3 separate regions of the Homo sapiens genome follow, and regions 1 and 3 are each linked to region 2. Evidence: promoter capture Hi-C in 16 types of primary human blood cells and fetal thymus (Javierre and others, 2016). All regions are on one chromosome and are shown on one strand. The core of a region is centred on a gene start or on the middle of the fragment in contact, and the rest is flanking DNA. Distances in the headings are between cores, read along the strand shown.

Region 1 (2,712 bases), core at 26-2,525, 420 kb before region 2:
TTCCCCTTGAATTTTCAGCAAACCATGTGGAACCTCTGCTTCCTCAGATTCCTGGTATGGTGCCATATTGTGGTCAAAGAGATGTCCAAGAAGTCCTGTTTGCCTCAGATAGTACCTCACAGAGTGTCAGTATCTTAGGAGGTCATTACTGGTCCAGACATTCTGTCTTCATTAAGTAATCAAAGGGAAATAACATTCTGGAAATGGAATAAAACCAGCCATACATATAAAAGAGCAATTATAAATAAGAATGTTAATTTATCAATTTATAACAACTGATAGATCTAGTTTGGGAACTGGAGTTGGTCATTTGTACAGGTATATTCCTGATGGGACAGTTCAAATTGATAAATTAGCATTTGTCTATTAAATACAGAACCAGACAGGAGGAATTGGAAATTCTGAAGGACATCATTAAATGTTGCAGTACTTCAGTCCCCTTTTCTCTTTTCTACATACTACCCATGGGTATCCTCATCTCATCCCAAGGCTTTAAATACCGTCTGTGTACCAGATAGCACAGCATAGTAGTAATGAACATGGGCTCTGGGGTCAACCTGCCTGGGTTTTTCTTCTGGTTTTGCTCCCAGTAGCTATGTGGCCTTGAGGAAATTTTCTGTTTCTTTATCTTTAAAATGAAGACAATAACACAGTGCCAACCTCACAGGGATGTTGGGAGTGTAACTCAGAAAATATTCATAAACTACTTAGATATGCCTGGCATGTAGTAAGTACCCAATAAATGTTAGTTATATACCAAGTACTCCCAAATCTCTATTTCTTGCCCTGACTTCTCCCCAGAATTCTAGACTTATAAATCTAAGTGCTTATTTGACATCTTCACAAAGACATCTAAGAGATATTTCACACTTACTATAGAAATTAGTAGCCTAGGGAGATAAAGATAATGTTTGTCTGTGGGGCAGAGAGCAATGATTTTACCAGGCTCTTGAGTACGGATCTGTGTCAGTAAGCAATCTGCGCTTACTTTCAGTTTCAAGTGACTGGTGGTGATCCAGGTTCACGTAAACAAATTCTGTTTGTGGTCTACCCAAACATCTATATCCTCACTACCAACACCATTTATTTTAGCTGTGGGGACCCCTTAACTAGTGGCCACTGCCTTATTGCTTGTTGGCTTGTGCCATGGGGCTTACTGTTTCATCATAATAATAGCCCTCCCTCCTTCTGCCCAGAGGAGAAAGAACAAATACCATTTGGACAGCTTGCTTCAATCCAAACTAATACCCCTCAGCCCCATTAACAGGTAGAACAGTGGGTATCCTCATTCTCCACCTCTCACTCACTACTTGGATGAGAACAGTCACTACTGGATCCCCAGGAGTCTCTCAGATCTTCCAAACAGGCCTGCAAAAGGGCCATTGTACTTTCCTCTTCCCGAAAGCCCTATCTCTGTCAGCATCTCGTCCTCATTGCCAGAACTTCCAACAACTATGAAAAGCCTGAGATTTTATGCCACTTCTAAACTAATAAGTTTGTCTGTTAGTTTCATGGGTACTGACAAAAAACATGAGACTCCTGGGTCAGAGACAAAGGACTTTATTACACTTGGCCCAGCAGGTAGCATGAACTTCATATTTGCATTAGTTCTCCTTGCCTCTAAGTTCCACTGGGTGATACGGAGCAGCCAATCTGGATGCTCTGCATACAGTAAGTTTATGTCATGGTTGAGGAACCCTGGGATTAGGAAACCCTAGTATTTTAAAGAGCGTTTACTTGAGACACAAATATCTTAATACTGTGACCACTTTATGTAGTTCTTTCCCAGACTTCCTTTTTACTGCTTTTCCAATATTGTTTTTCATTTAAGTGACTGACAAGGTGGTCAACCTGTTAACATGCTGCCCATGATTCAATGTAGATATGTACCTCAGGCAATCTCTCCTTCCAAACAAAGTGTACAACTAGATATGCTGCTTCAAGTTCTGCCTGCTGGAGAGATTTTCTTTCATTACTGACTTTGAAGCCTCTACTGAGTGAGGTTCACTGTAGTGGAGAGGCCATTCTCATTCATCTGGGGCTGACATAGCATGCAAATCCAGGCCCATGCTCTTTCTTCCTCCATTAACTGTTCATAGGGAATTCCTCATGAGGCCGTCGGTGTAGAGCAAGGGAGAGGTGGAAGAGTAGCTGGAATTACAAAGTCCCCTGCTTATGCAGCATACTTGTGTATTCTGGACCTGTTCAGACCCATTTTTGTATATTCCACTTCTGTTTTATAATGAATTCCTGTTAGGTAATTCAGTTTTATATTTGGTGGTTCAGAAAACACCCAGTTCATGATGGACAGTTTGCGTTGCATGATAATTTGGTGTCCCGAGGCAGACATTCAATTTCTACCAGCTCTCAGAAGCAAGCTAGGAATTGCTTTTCAAATGGCGAAAGGTTGTCAGCACAAGTGGACATCAGCTTACTGCAAATCTCCTGGGGGGATATCAAAGACTTCCAAGGAGGAAAAAAATCAATCTAAATTCGATTACAAAGAAATGCAAGAGACTCCAGGCCTCAATTTCTTTGCTTTGTATAAAGGTAAAAATGATAGATTTATTACAATTTGAGTTATAAATTTAAATTTACAATTTAGTTACAATTTTAAAAGGCTAAAAGAAGCTTTTTTGTACCAAGCTGTAGAAAGTTTTAGTATAATTTGGTAAAACGATAAGAGAACTTAATTTTAATTAAGTTTTACTT
Region 2 (2,700 bases), core at 71-2,570:
ACACCTGTAATCCCAGCACTTTGGATGGGGGAGACCAAGGTGGGCAGATCACCTGAGGTCAGGAGTTCAAGACCAGCCTGGCCAACATGGTGAAACCTGGTCTCTACTAAAAATACAAAAATTAGCCAAGCATGGTGGCGCACGTCTGTAATTTCACCTACTCGGGAGGCTGAGGCATGAGAATCACTTGAACCCGGGAGGCAGAGTTTGTAGTGAGCCAAGATCACGCCACTGCACTCCAGCCTGGGTGACAGAAGGAGACTCTGTCTCAAAAAATAAATAAATAAATAAAAATTAAAAATGAAATAAATAAATTAATTCAATTAAATTAAATGCGGGATCCAGGTTTCAGAGCATCCTGGACCCCAGAACTGGAGAAAGAGGGGAGCAGCCCTCAGCTGGGATCCCCAGGAGTAAATGTTAGATGGCTCCATGCCTGGCTGACAGCTTTAGGTTTGCTGTGGAGCTTCCTCATATTGTCTCCTTCTTCTGCCCCAACCCTGCATGTCCCTAATAATTTCCAGGCTCCTGTGGCATCTGGATGGCTGAAGAAGCCGGGGAGATGAGGGACCATGCCTTCCAGCTTCTTCCTGGCTGCTGGCCTCGCCCTCCCCTCCCTGGGCTCAGCTTTCCTGCCTCAGGGGTCCATCCATCTGTCTCTGAGCTCGAGAACCACCCACTTCCTTGGGACTGCTTCTCTTCTCTCATGCCACAATTGGAGGATGCAATTTTCATCATCTTTACAGGCGGCTGGAAGGAGGCTTCTCTCTCCACTACACGGAAGGGTAAATTGAAGCCAGTGGGAAGGAATCTCCTCACCCAAGACTTCCTGGATTGCTGGTGGCAGGGCCAGATACCCCTCTCACAGACCTCCCAGTGCACTGCCAGCCTGTCCTGTCTGATTTAGACTGTCAGAGCTGTCAGGAGCTGCTCGGAGTCAAGTTCCAGATGACTGTGTATGTGGCACAAGCAGAGGCTCTGGCTCTGATCTCCCTGAGGGGCACAGCTCCTAGTCCCTCCCTCGCCCCACGCCAGGTAGGACCTCCTTACCTTTGCCCTGATACACCTTGAGGAGCAGGAGGAGTATGAGGGTGACCACTTGCCCCAGCATTTCCACAGGACAGAGGGGCCAGGCCAGCCCCTCCACCCCACCAGACTCTCTGCCGTGCACGGGCTCAGCAGTCCCCAGTCAGCAAGAGGACGATGGGGAGCAGAACTGCCTTGCAACCTGTCCAGCCACAGTTTCCTCAATTAGAGGCTGTTAACGCCTGCTGTGAGCTGACAAGGCCACTGAGAAAGCCCCAGCGCCTGGAGCTGGTCTGACAGTTCCCACAAGCCAAACTGGTGAAGCTTACCTCAAGTGGGAGGGTGCTTGAAGTTCACAGTGACTCACAAAGCCAGTTTCAAAATTGCATCCCGTTCTCTGCTTCAGCCCAAGAAGTCTTCCAATTCTCTGAATCCTATATGGAGAGACCCCCATGGGGGCCAAACAGCCAGTATCCCCAACTGTTCCATTCCAACAGACATTGTGGAGGTGGAGTGGAGAGGGGCTGGAGGAGGAGTGGGCTGAAACGTAGGGCCCTGGATAAGCGGCTAACAGTGTTGAAGGAAAGGAGGAGTAGCTGAGAGAACATAGGAAGAGACCTAAGGGCTGGAGGCACTAGAAAAATCTAGCAAGCCTGGGGATTCCATGCAAGTTGACACCAAAGTTTAAGCACATGTAAATTAAATTTGTTTCATAAGAATTTGTTTCACACGGGGCACAGTGGCTCACGCCTGTAATCCCAACACTTTGGGAGACTGAAGCAGGCAGATCACTTGAGATCAGGAGATCGAGACTAGCCTGGCCAATATGGTGAATCCCCACCTCTACTAAAAATAGAGAAATTAGCCAGGCTGGGTGGCGTGCACCTGTAATCCAAGCTACTTGGGAGGCTGAGGCAGGGGAATCACTTGAGCAAAGGAGGTGGAGGTTGCGGTAAGCCAAGATCACGCCACTGCACTCCAGCCTAGGTGACAGAGCGACACTGTGTCTCAAAAAAAAAAAAAAAAATTTTGTTTTGCTCCACATTTCCGATCTGTATGCCTAGATTCCCTCCCTTCCTCTTTTTCTACTTTTCTATAGTAGTCCTCTCTTCCCTCTTTTGTCTTCTCCCAGAAGTGACATGGGCCTATTTTTGCTGCCTTCCCATCCATGCTTGGACGCCACCCTCCAGGAAGGCCAGGCAGCTCTGGATCTGCTTAGGCCCCCATGGAGGGGTGGGGACAGCGGCATCCCCCCTCCCCTGGAACACTGTGCTTCAAGGCCAGGCCCCAGGGTTCATGCCTCTTTCTTTCTTCCTTCTGCTTTCCCCTTAACAAATACTTTCAGTTCCCTTCAAGTCCGCTCTTATTCTCTTTTTCCATCCTTTGGTCCATTTCCAGCCACCCTGTCTGAACTGGGCAGGGGGCAGCAGACTGACAGCTTCAGCTGCCAACAGAGGCAGCAGCGGGGCTCTGGACAGAGCGCTGGATTTAGAGTCAAAGACTTGGACTTGCAGCTCCCATTCAGCAACTTACAACCTATGTGATTCTGGCCTTGTTGCTGTCTGAGCCTGTAGGGTCAACAATACATCCTCCCCACCTTCACAAGGCAGTTTTCAGGATCAAATTAAAAATGATACTCCAGAATATGCACACAAAAAACACTGGACATAGATG
Region 3 (2,700 bases), core at 3-2,502, 330 kb before region 2:
CATTTCTGAAAAATTGGTTGTAGTGTCCTCATTTTCATTTCCAATTTTAGTAATTTGAGCACTCTGTCTTTTTTTCCATAACCACTCTAACTAAATTTGCCAATTTCGTTGATCCTTTTAAGTAATCAACTTTTTGGTTCATTAATTTTCTCTATTTTATCTCTGGTCTAATCTTTATTATTTTCTTTATTTTGATAGCTTTGGGTTCATAGTAGTGGCACTTTCCCACTTGAGATCTGAATTAAGTGAAATAGAGACCAGTTCTTCATGGACTCCTAAGACAGATTAGAATATTGCAAATAAGATCTGTTATGTTCCCTCCCATTCAAGAGAGGGAACTGAGAAGTGAACTCCTGCCTCCTCTAAACAAGCTTTCTGTTGGGATGAGGAGGGGATGGGGCAAGGGCAAGAAAAATGCCATGGAACTTTTCCTACCATTTCAAAAGTGGCTTTTTCTTCATTGGGCATTTGATTGGTTGTTATAAAACTCTGACTGTTTTCCAGAGTCCCTATAAGGTTAATTCAACCATTTGGGTTTTTTTTTGTTTGTTTGGCTGTTTTTTTATTACTCTAAGTTGGGGGAAAGAGAGAGTTTGGAATTTCCTAGTCCACCACTTTGCTGACATCACTCTCTCTATCTCTATACTTTTACACTGATTTTTAAAAAGATGATAGAAATGTGTTCACATATTTCTTAAGTAACTAAAAATTAGTGACATTATCCAAGATCTTGGTGGATAAATAATATTCTCTCTGAAGAACCAATGCCCCTTAGAAAAATGACTGATTCTAGATGTGAGATAGCCTCTTATATGTATTTCTTGACTCACTTTACTAACAAGGATCTTCAATACAATACAGTTGAAGAGTAGCAGTGATCTTGTATTCACTGAATACAAGAATGGTTACTTGTATTCATTTCTTTATTAAGAATGCCTCTAATGTTTCCAATAAATGTTTGCTACATATGCTGTATCAAGTTGTAAAAGTTTAACCCGAGCCAGTCATTTGCTTATTTGCTCTCAGCTCTATTCCCACCCTTCTGTGTTCCTTGTTTTTCAGAAGGTTAGAAGTCTGCAAACTACATTTATCATTTCCATTGTCAGATGGCTTCTGATTAGATTTTGTCACTGGGTGGTATTGGTTAAAGTTGGATGGAAGGAATAAATTATATATTTTTCCATAATCTTGGTTTCTGGTAATGTTTTCAGTAGTGGCAGTGATAGCAGAAGATGAGTACCGCTTCAGGGTTCCTGGTGTAGCAGTGCAGTTCCAGCAAGCATGTCAGAAGTCTTGCTAGTGTGGTACTGGTGGGATCAGGCTTTGATGGTGGCATCTGCAGTGGTGAGTTATTTTTGTCTCCCAGAGTCTCACAGTTTTGATGAGACTGTGAACTCTTAGAATCTTGAAAGCTGGCAGCACTGATTCCCAAGACAAATTTCCATAGGGACAAAGTTCCATAGCAACTTCCTGGAATTATTAATTGCTTGGTAACCTCAGCTTCCCTGTTTTACTCCTCCATCACTTTTGGAATCAATTCCCTATATTCAGCTTGTTGAGTTTTCAGTATTTAACATGGTCTCAGTTTTTTAAAATTGGATATTGACTAAAACACATTCTATTTTTAGCTTTCTTGAAAACTTTTTAAATCAGTCATGGGTATTCAGTTTTATCAAATATATATTGTAGACTATGTCAGGATGATTATTTTTTTCATCTCCTTTAATCTGTTTGAACAGCAAATTACAATAGATGGTTTCTTAAAGATAAATCATCCTGGCACTCTAAGGATAAAATCCTACTTGGTCGCATTTTTTTTTCTTTTAATGCATTGCTTTAAAATTGACTGAAGTTTAAGATTTTTAACATTTATATTTATAAGTGAGATTGGACTATATCAGGATGTGGCAGACTTTTTCTGTAAAGGTCCCAGTAGTGAATATTGGACTTTGTGGACCATACAATCTCCTTTGCAACTACTCAACTCTGCTGGTGTAGTATGGAAGCAGCCATAATAAACACATAAAAGAATGCGTGTTGGCTGTGTTTCAATAAAACTTTATTTATGGATGCTGAAATTTGAATTTCACATAATTTTAACATGTCCCAAAATATTATTATTCTTTGAATTCTTTTCAACCATTTTAAAAATGTAAACTATTCTTAGTTCGTGGGTCAAATAAAAACAGATGGCAGACTGGATGTGGCCACACGCCATAGTTTGCTAACTCCTGGCCTATGTATCTCTTTGTGGGGGATCATCCTTATCTGGCTTTGGAATCAGTGTTATATTATAGTATTTAATGAATTTGGAAGCTTCCCACTGTTTTCTATGCCTTGGGACAGTTAAGATGACTGGGAATTATCCTTTCATTGTAGGTGATAGGACTAGCCCTTAAGACCATCTAGGCTGGTACACTTTTGGCAATTAGACCACTGAATATCTTTCCATTTTTTTTCAGGTTAAAGAATTTCTTCTAATTATAAACTAACTTTCTCTCTCTCTTTCTTTCTTTCCTTTCCTTTTCTTTTTTTTTTCTTTCTTTTCTTTCTTTTGAGAAAGAGTCTTGCTCTGTTGCCCAGGCTGGAGTGCAGTGGCACCATCTCAGCTCACTGCAACCTCTGCCTCCCGGGTTCAAGCAATTCTCGTGCCTCAGCCTTCCAAGTAGCTGGGACTACAGGTGTGTGCCACCACACCCG

Evidence for each region. The method cuts DNA at HindIII sites, captures the fragments that hold promoters and counts their contacts. A CHiCAGO score of 5 or more calls a contact.
Region 1: a contact is called between a fragment that was not itself captured here and the fragment with the promoter of CD244 in region 2, in 1 of 17 cell types (fetal thymus). The highest score is 6.3, in fetal thymus.
Region 3: the fragment with the promoter of CD84-AS1 here is called in contact with the fragment with the promoter of CD244 in region 2 in 11 of 17 cell types (erythroblasts, total CD8 T cells, fetal thymus and 8 more); the score reaches 9.7 in erythroblasts.

Annotation. Positions count from the first base shown.
Region 1 is chr1:160,437,094-160,439,805 of GRCh38, forward strand. LOC105371467 (a long non-coding RNA gene) reads right to left here and starts at 1,084. Exons shown (of 3, transcript XR_922202.3): 1 at 989-1,084; 2 at 1-197. The HindIII fragment of the contact is 2,708 bases long and covers 1-2,629 here.
Region 2 is chr1:160,861,567-160,864,266 of GRCh38, forward strand. CD244 (CD244 molecule) reads right to left here and starts at 1,321. Exons shown (of 9, transcript NM_016382.4): 1 at 1,051-1,321. The coding sequence starts at 1,111. RefSeq lists an enhancer at 1,137-1,186. The HindIII fragment of the contact is 2,100 bases long and covers 1-1,348 here.
Region 3 is chr1:160,535,844-160,538,543 of GRCh38, forward strand. CD84-AS1 (CD84 antisense RNA 1) reads left to right here and starts at 1,253. Exons shown (of 2, transcript NR_188634.1): 1 at 1,253-1,344. The HindIII fragment of the contact is 1,945 bases long and covers 370-2,314 here.